Regions from separate parts of the Homo sapiens genome. Here all the other regions are linked to region 1. The links are contacts of gene promoters, found by promoter capture Hi-C in human tissues and cell types (Jung and others, 2019). All regions are on one chromosome and are shown on one strand. The core of a region is centred on a gene start or on the middle of the fragment in contact, and the rest is flanking DNA. Distances in the headings are between cores, read along the strand shown.

Region 1 (2,869 bases), core at 1-2,500:
AGATGGCTCACGTCTGTAATCCCAGCATCCCAGCACTTTGGGAGGCCGAGGCGGGCAGATTACGAGGTCAGGATTTCAAGACCAGCCTGACCAATATGGTGAAACCCCGTCTCTACTAACAATACAAAAATTAACCAGGCATGGTGGTGCGCGCCTGTAGTCCCAGCTACTCGGGAGCCTGAGGCAGGAGAATTGCTTGAACACGGGAGATGGAGGTTGCAGTGAGCCAAGATCGCGCCACTGCACTACAGCCTGGGCGACAGAGCGAGACTCTGTTTCAAAGAAAAGAAAAAAAGCTGTGTGACCCTGAGGATTCTACCATTTACTGAACAAGCTCCCACTGCCAGGTTACATGATAATTTAACATGTATGTTTTCATTTAATCCCTATGACATAGATTTTATTATTATTTTCATTTTACTGACCAGAAAACTGAGGTTCAGAGATGTAAGCTATTTGCCTACGGTCCCAAAGCCAATAGTTGATGCGTATGGATGTGAACTGAGGTTAGCTCCAGGCTCAAGGTCTCTGCTAATACTGTCCTTAGTAAGGTTTCTCTGAAGAGCCTCTTTACTCATAGGCTGATTAGCAAAGGGTTCCTAAATATGCTTAAGAATCAATAACCATTAAAAATCCCTCACCCTACAAGAAACTCCCCATCAAAAAACTGGATCAGTGAAATGAACAGGCAATACACAGAAATGGAAGTACCCGTAAGAAAAATAGTTTACTACCCTAGTAATCAAAGAAAAACAAAATTACACGGGTGTATTCCTTTTGGCTTATCAGATTGGAAAATATTTTTCTAAAAAGAAAAATGTAATTATCTTGTAATGACTACACTAAAAATCTAGGGCATAATTGACTTAATTTACTCCAAATGTGTTGCTATTGCGTCCATAGCACGGACTTGCCCATTTCAACTCAATATATGTTACGCTTGGGGTAGTTTATTACAATGAGCAATAAACATTCTCATAATCGCCAAGACAAGCCAAGTGCAAAACAGGAAGGGCGAAGACAGAGGGCAGCAGGTGGTCCCTCTCGCTCGCGACTCCGGGAACGCCAAGCCTCAGCCCTTGGGAACCTGGGGCGAGGCGCCTGGGTCTCGGCCAGGGGGCGCGCCCGAGGACGCCGAAGTAGGGCGCGTGTGGGGACCACAACTCCCAGGCGCCCGCGCGCCGCCTCGCCCGGACCACGTGATCCGTGCGGCCAGGGTAGCTATCGCGGCGGCGGCGGCGGCGGCGGTTGAACTGACTCGGAGCGAGGAGACCCGAGCGAGCAGACGCGGCCCTGGCGCCCGCCCTGCGCACTCACCATGGCGGTAAGGGCCGGGCGCTACGGTGAAGAGGGTGGGCGGTTGGGGCGGGGTCTCCTGGAGCTGCCATCTCGGCACCCCGAATCCTCGCTGCCGCTGGCCCGGGGCTGGTGAAGGGTGTGTTGGCAGCATTGCCAACAGCTGGAACAGGGTTGGGGGACGCGGCAGGTATAGGTTGCGGTGGCTCTGTGGTTTTCCTCTTTATTTGTCCCTCCTGCTGGGAGGCAGTCCGGCTAGGCGAGCAGTTACCGAGCGCCCGCGGTGGCGCGGCTTGAGAGTGGGGGCGCGGTGGCTGAAGACAGCTGGGTCCGGGGCCCCCGGCCCCGGACCTCTGGCCGGCGCCCCAGGGCGGAGAGCAGCGCCTTGGGAGATTCCAGGAAGGCTTCCACGAAAGGGAAACCCCCGGCGCATTTCAGCCCGCAGCCCCGCGCGCACACCGAGCGCACATCCCCGGCCCTGCTCTTGTCAAGTTTGTAGCCTGATTCTTCGGGGAATAAAACAGAACCAGCTACTTTCCAGCTTCCCTACACTTTCAGTCAGAAAACAGCGTTTCAGACAAGCTGTTTTTCTTGGTAGGGTTCACCTGGGCTGGAGAGAACGACAGCTTGCAAGACTCGTTCGTCTTTGAAGAAGTCATATCATTTTCTTCATCCCATGAAGAATGTCATAGAATTTAAGATACAGGAAGCTCAGCCTGGGCAACATAGCTAGACCCCGTCTCTACAAAAATTAGCCACAAGTGGTGGCAGGCGCCTGTAATCCCAGCTACTCGGAGGCTGAGGCAGGATGAGGAGGATTGCTTGAGCCCAGAAGTTCCAGGCTGCAGTGAGCCATGACCTTCGGCCTGGGCAACAGAACAAGACGTCCTCAAACAAACAAAACAAAAAAAAAAAGATATAGGAAGTGTATGTAGGCCATTTAGTGAAATGATCAGCCGTCCTTTAAAAAGGGAAATAGATGGAAAGCACTTGCAAAAGTTCCCCAGCCAGTCAGCCTAGCAACTGGGACCTTCATCTCCTTCCCAACCCTTGTTTACAAATAAGGAAGCTTTTCTCAAAGTGTAAGTAACCCCAAATGAAGAAATATAGAAGAAAACAAGTTCCAGGGATTGCTCCCTCCTTCACCACAGCCCCACCCTGAAAAAAGCACAAATCAGTTAAACTTTCAGAGGCCAAGATTCATCCCAAGTAGGAAAACAAGATTGGGGCCCTGCCCCTTGCCTATCTGACCACAAAGCCCTTTAATTGAAAACTGTAGCCCAGATCGCTTCTCTCAAGTCAGGGTGTGCTGACTTCCATCTTTTCCTCTAGCAAAAAGGCAAAAGTAGAAAGGGTTGAGTGACAGGTGAGTCTTCGTCCCTCTGGGGCTTCGGACTCCGTGGGTGTTTCCAGCTCTGAACAAACCATACAGTTCATCTTCCCAGCTATCTCCTGCTTCTCTGGCTTCAGAACCATCCTAGCCAACTGCTCTCTGGCCAGGGCAGGTGTCTCTCAGGCGGCTTGGTCCCCAGCACCCCCAGGGAGCCTCCACTGTGCCTCCCTTTCTCTGACC
Region 2 (2,869 bases), core at 212-2,711, 420 kb after region 1:
TGTTTGTTGAGTCCTGTTTCTCTGCTTATTACAAGGTTATGGACATATACTTTTATGTATTCTTTTAGATGTTTTATGTTTCATATTTAGATCTAAAATCCACTTGAAATAGATTTTTATCCATGTATGAAGTAGAGGTCAAGACTCATTTTCTCTGGATAAATATTCAATGTATTCAAAATCCATCCTGTCTCACTATAGGGCAATGTCACCTTTGTCAGAAATTGAGGGGCAATACGTGGGTGGGTCACTTGAATTTTGAAGAATGAGTAGAGCTTCAGCAGGTGGACAGGGGAGGGGAAGGTGCTCTAGGCAGGACGTACAGTGTGAGCATAGGTTTAGAGGGGCCTGAGGGTAGAGTGTAGCAGACTGGCTGGAGGGAAAAGAGGAGAAACGGTGTGGTGGAGAGGTTGGCGGGGGCAGAACACACAGGGTTAGAGGATGGGACTTTATCCTAGAGGGATGAAGGCATTTTGAGCAGGAGACCAATATAGGCAAGTTGGTGCAGGGCCAAGGGAGATAAGAGAAAGTCTCATGACAGAGGGAGGCAGGAGGGTGGGTTTGGAGAAGACTGTAAATTCAGCCAAACCTAGCCCTGACATCACCCCCAAGCAGAGATAGGGTGTGCCTGCCTCAGGAGGCAGCGGTGAGGCTGAGTGTGCCTGAGGCTCGGGAGGGTGACCTTCGGCCACAGGGTTGTGGCTTAGTCTCATGTCCACATGTCCACTCCAGTGTCCTCGAGTGAAAAAGCCTCTTTTTTTTACTGGATGGGCACCCCACCACCACCCAGTGCCCCCAGCGCTGCAGGCCCTGAAGGAGGAGGGCAGTGGGGCAGACTGGGGCAGACAGATAAGGCAAGGGTGTGTATCTGGAAAGGGGGACCTTTCTGTTCCTCCTGCCCTTGATGCCCCCACAAGGAGACCTGGCTATGCCTTGGGCCCTGAACTCTGATCTTTCTAGGCTAGCTGAGATTCAGAACTGGACAGACATGCTGGGAAGAGCAAGACCCAGTGAGGGGAGTGATTTGGCCCAGGCCATGCAGTGAGCCAGACTGACCCAGCCTAGGGGCAGGCTGAGCACAGACTCATCTGCCTTCTCAGCTTCCAAGTTTCCCCCCCTGAAACCTGCAACTAACAGGACTCCTGTCCTAGGCTGCTGTAAGGGTCAGAATACGTCAAGTGCCCTGTCCCGGAATTGGATGCAGGAGAGGGAGCTGATGATGTCGATGATCGTCATGAGAGTAACAATTATGATTACAGAAATTGCAGATGCTTATTGAGCACTTACTAGGTGCCAGGCCCTATGCTAAGCCCTCCCCACAGAGCTGTGATGTGGGTACTCAGTATTCACATTGCCATTTTACAGATGAGGAAATCGAGCCTGAATAGGTTAAGCAGCCTGTGCAGGTACCTTGACGTAGGAGGTGGCAGAGCCAGGGTTTGAAGCTTGATTTGCCTATCTCCAAGCCCCAGTTGTTCATCAGCAATAGGCTTCCCTCCTTCCACCTCTGGCTTTCAGTCCTCCCTATTCTCAGAGCTGTTGCTTGGAGTAAAACCTTAGTTTTTGGGTTGGTCCCTGGTGCCCACTCATGAGAGAGTCAAGCTGTGGAGAGGAAGGCAAGGAGCAGAGGGGCACCACCATGGGCTACTGTGTGCCAGGCACTGCCTCCATATGCCCCGTAGCAGCCGTGAGGAAGCGGCACACTGGCTGTGAGGGAGGCGGCACATGGATAGGAATTGGGATTCACCCCCAGGCCCTCCTGCTTCCAAAGGCTGACCTCATGACTGCAGTGCTATTTGTGTCCTTCCCTGAGGTCATCCTGGCATGGCAGAGCTTCTTTGATTAACCTAGCAGAAAACATCACAGAGAAGCCACACGCTTCTAGCTCTCCCCACCTGGAAGGGGACCCTGGGAGGGAGAGGATTTGGGAGGGTCACTGGGTGTACAGAATTCTGCACTGCCCCTCCCAACACCAGGTGTCAGTCTCCTGCCCCTCAGTCTCCAACCATGTGGAGTCCGAGCGGGGCCCCTGCGTCTGGTATTGCTCTCCACTGCCTAGCACAGAGCCAGGCCCAGGTTTGTCCTCAGGAAGCATCCTTTGAAGGAAGGGAAGGAGGAAGTGAAGACGGCAGGAAAGGAGATCACAGAGGAGTAGAAAGAGCAGGGCTTTGGAGTCAGGCAGACCATGGTTTCAATTCTGACTCTTCCACTGACTTGCTTTTTGATCTTGTGTAAGTTACTTAATGTCTCTAACTCCTAGTTTTCTTATTAAAAATGATACTGATCTCATAGGATTGTTGGAAGTAGAGCCTAAAGTATAAAACAACTGTCACAGTGTGTGGCATGCAGTAGATGCTCAGTTAATGATCTCTCTCTCTCCCCTATCTTTGTCATCATTATCTGTTTTGAACACCTCTAGCTTCACCTTCCTTACCTCTGCAGCGCTAAGTAAACATTGCTTTCAGGGTAACGTTGGAATTCCTTAAAATATCCATGCTCCTGCCTCATCCAACCACCTCCACTTCCTTGAATGTTCCCTGCTGGCTCTGGCTCAGCCTGGAATATCCTGTCCCATCTTTTCCCCCCTATTACCTCCTCCCAGAGCCATCCTAGTTGTCCCTGCTGCCTCTACTTCCACAGCCTCCTAGCATGGTAGCAGGTGGGTGAGAGATGGACCTGGCATCTCCAAGGCAGAGAACATGGCTTGTTGCTGTTTGGCAGCAATAGCCAACACAGGCCCTGGCGCATGGCTGCAGCTCTGTAGGTATTTGCTGAGTAAGTCTTGGGGGAAATGGTGTGAATAAGCCAGACATGATCCTGATGAGCCAAACAGGACCTGCCCGGGGCCATGACAGCAGGGCAGGCTGGG
Region 3 (2,869 bases), core at 1-2,500, 280 kb after region 1:
ACTGCAGGGAATGGGAAGGAGTGGTTCTAGGTTCATTTGGACAGCATGGAGGGCAAAGAACGTGTGGTAAAAGCTTCTCTTCAGTCCCAAGAGGTGGGTCTCTGGCTCATCTTAGATGTTAATTTCTCCAAGAGAAGCATCTTTTAGAAAAATCCTTTTAGTTTCCTAAAGTCTTGATTCAAATTTCCTTATACCCCAATGAATTTCAGGATTCCACGGAGAGACCAAAGATGAACTACTATGACCATGCGGATTTCCACCACAGTGTAAAAAGTAAGTTACTAGAGTAGAGGAACCTTAGTAAGTGACTGAGGATAGGGAGAGTTGAACCTGTGTTGACCAGGATAGTTTACCTCCCTGAAGGCACAGTTCCTCTATCTCAGAGAAGTCCTAAAAACACCCCATTTTTCCTTTTCTGTCCTCCATTTGTTGTAGTTGAGAGGAGTTTACAGGTGCAATTAATGACTGCATCTTCTTTTAGGTCCTGAATTGTATGAAACAGAACCCACTAACAAGGACATTAGTGCTCCAGTGGACGCTGTGCCAGAAGCCCAGGCTGCCAGGCAAAAGAAGATCTCCTTTAACTTTTCAGAAATTATGGCTAGCACAGGCTGGAACTCTGAGCTCAAACTACTTAGGATTCTTCAGGACACTGATGATGAGGATGAGGAGGACCAGTCCTCTGGGGCAGAGTGAGAAGCCTCTGGAGGAATAGACTGAAGGCATCCCCTGGGGCAGCCGTGTTCCAAAGCGGGATGGCTGGTATCCTGAGGGCAGCAACGTTTCACATAAGGGCAAGAGGAGAGGGGCTTCTGCTCTCTGGAGCCTTTACCAGGGCCTGAGCTCTGAGCTTAGGGATTCCATTTTCTTTGTTCACCTCTACTTGCCTCTAAAATAAATGTAGGAGAAAAATCCCCAGCCTTTTTAAATTTAGATTATTTCCTTTCCATTAGGGTCAGAATAATTTTGGTGATTAAACACAACTGCTTTTCAATCAAAAGACTTATTTTCTGTTTCTAGGAGGAAGGGAAAGATGTTTCTTGGTATCTGTTTTCTGGGTCACTCTTATCTCTGAAGTTCTGAAAGGTTTCCAGTTGTAGGAGGCTGAATTTGGCTCATGGGAGCTGCCATGATGCTCCCTAGATTTTCCTCTCATTCCCTAGAAATGGTTTCTTTTGGAGATGGGATCTACATTGTTATCAAATAATGTTCATTGTGTCGCTGGTCTTAAGCTCCTAGGCTCAAGCAGTCCTCCCTCCTCAGCCTCCCAAAGTGCTGGGATTACAGGCATGAACCACTGTGCCCAGCCAAAAGCTCTAGTTTCTTTCTTTTTTTTTTTGAGATGGAGTTTTGTTCTTGTTGCCCAGGCTGGAGTGCAATGGCATGATCTCGGCTCACCGCAACCTCCGCCTCCTGGGTTCAAGCGATTCTCCTGCCTCAGCCTCCCGAGTAGCTGGGATTACAGGCATACGCCACCATGCCTGGCTAATTTTGTATTTTTAGTAGAGATGGGGGTTTCTCCATGTTGGTCAGGCTGGTCTCGAACTCCTGACCTCAGGTGAGCCACCCACTTCAGCCTCCCAAAGTGCCGTGATTGCAGGTGTGAGCCACCGCACCCGGCAAAAAGCTCTAGTTTCTAAGGAACTGAGTCTGCACAGGAAAGTTTCAGTGATGCTCATAAAGGCTCAGAATTTCAGAGTCTGAGAGAACTTCTAACTTGGTTTTGGAGGTTTTTTTTTTTTCATGTTTTAGTCCTTAAAAAGATATAATGTAAAAATTTCAAAATTACGTAAAAGGAAAGAGAATAATATAATGAAACTTTGATGTATTCAGTATCTTAGATCTGGGCAAGGAAGGCCCTTGGCCCCGTGCTTTAGAAAGTCCTCTGGTGTTCTGGCTGTGCTGCCCCTCACGGCAGAGAAATCTGCAGAGCCAAGTGGACGTACACCTAGCTGGAGTCTGTGACTCCCCTTTTAGACTTTGTTCCTGGTATTTGGAACCCTGGAATTCCCTGCCCAGTGGCCTCTTGCCTACTTCCATGGCTTCTGCAGGCCTCTTTTGTGGGTCCATCTCCCAAGAGTGGACTATCCCACCAGTGTGTGTGCTGCTGGGTTCAAGGGGGTAAGAGGAGGGTATTTGGAGAGGGATGTGCCCAGAGCTTGGACAGATAGACTGGGGTATCAGCATTTGTTGCCTTTCCCAGTAAGGATGGGATCATGGGGATGAGAAGTGAGGGCTGGTTCTTCTAGTGCTGCATGTTAGTGTGGAACCTCAAGGAATCTGTGGATTTTGAATGAACCTGGCTTTCTAGATCATGAAGGTATACTGGTCAAGGTAGCAAGTTAGAACATGTTTTATTTAACAATTTGTTAGCTTAATTTATAGTTTTTAAATGTTCAGACATGGTTAGTAGACCTGTTTTTGTACACTTATCCTGAGTCCTGCAAAACATTAGGACTGTCCAGAGCCATCATTTGGGACAAATTTTAAGGAGGAAGAATTTAACCCCACAATGTAGAGATCATTAATTTGCAGTCCCATTTTAAAGGTAAGGATAGCAAGGCTCAGAGAGGGGATTTGTCTTGACTGAGCTCATGAGCTGGGAAGTGGGGCTAAGCTGGAATCTGGGTCTCCTAGTGCTAGGTCAGAGCTCTTTTCATTATTCCAGTCTGCTGTTCTCTCACCTCATTCTCCAGAAACAATGGTAGGTTATTCATCATCATATTTAACCAGAGTCTGACTTCCTCTCCTTCCTGGTGTGCTGTCTGTCTTCCTCTGTAATTGATTAATGTGGGTCCCAGGGATGCTGGCTCCATGTTTTTTATAATCAGGAAAGTTGGAAACATATAAAAGTTAATGAGATCCCATG

Evidence for each region. Contacts are between HindIII fragments. The study calls those that stand out against the background at their distance.
Region 2: a contact is called between a fragment that was not itself captured here and the fragment with the promoter of SLC31A2 in region 1, in 1 of the 25 tissues and cell types used here (aorta).
Region 3: a contact is called between a fragment that was not itself captured here and the fragment with the promoter of SLC31A2 in region 1, in 1 of the 25 tissues and cell types used here (liver).

Annotation. Positions count from the first base shown.
Region 1 is chr9:113,149,757-113,152,625 of GRCh38, forward strand. SLC31A2 (solute carrier family 31 member 2) reads left to right here and starts at 1,251. Exons shown (of 4, transcript NM_001860.3): 1 at 1,251-1,324. The coding sequence starts at 1,319. The HindIII fragment of the contact is 13,784 bases long and covers 1-2,869 here.
Region 2 is chr9:113,571,758-113,574,626 of GRCh38, forward strand. All of the region lies in intron 17 of RGS3 (regulator of G protein signaling 3), which reads left to right. Among named protein-coding and RNA genes, the nearest start is that of RGS3, 110 kb to the left of the region's middle. RefSeq lists an enhancer at 2,842-2,869. The HindIII fragment of the contact is 5,501 bases long and covers 1-2,869 here.
Region 3 is chr9:113,428,691-113,431,559 of GRCh38, forward strand. It overlaps C9orf43 (chromosome 9 open reading frame 43), which reads left to right. Exons shown (of 14, transcript NM_001278629.2): 13 at 210-273; 14 at 482-1,000. The coding sequence ends at 696. Among named protein-coding and RNA genes, the nearest start is that of C9orf43, 19 kb to the left of the region's middle. The HindIII fragment of the contact is 8,820 bases long and covers 1-2,869 here.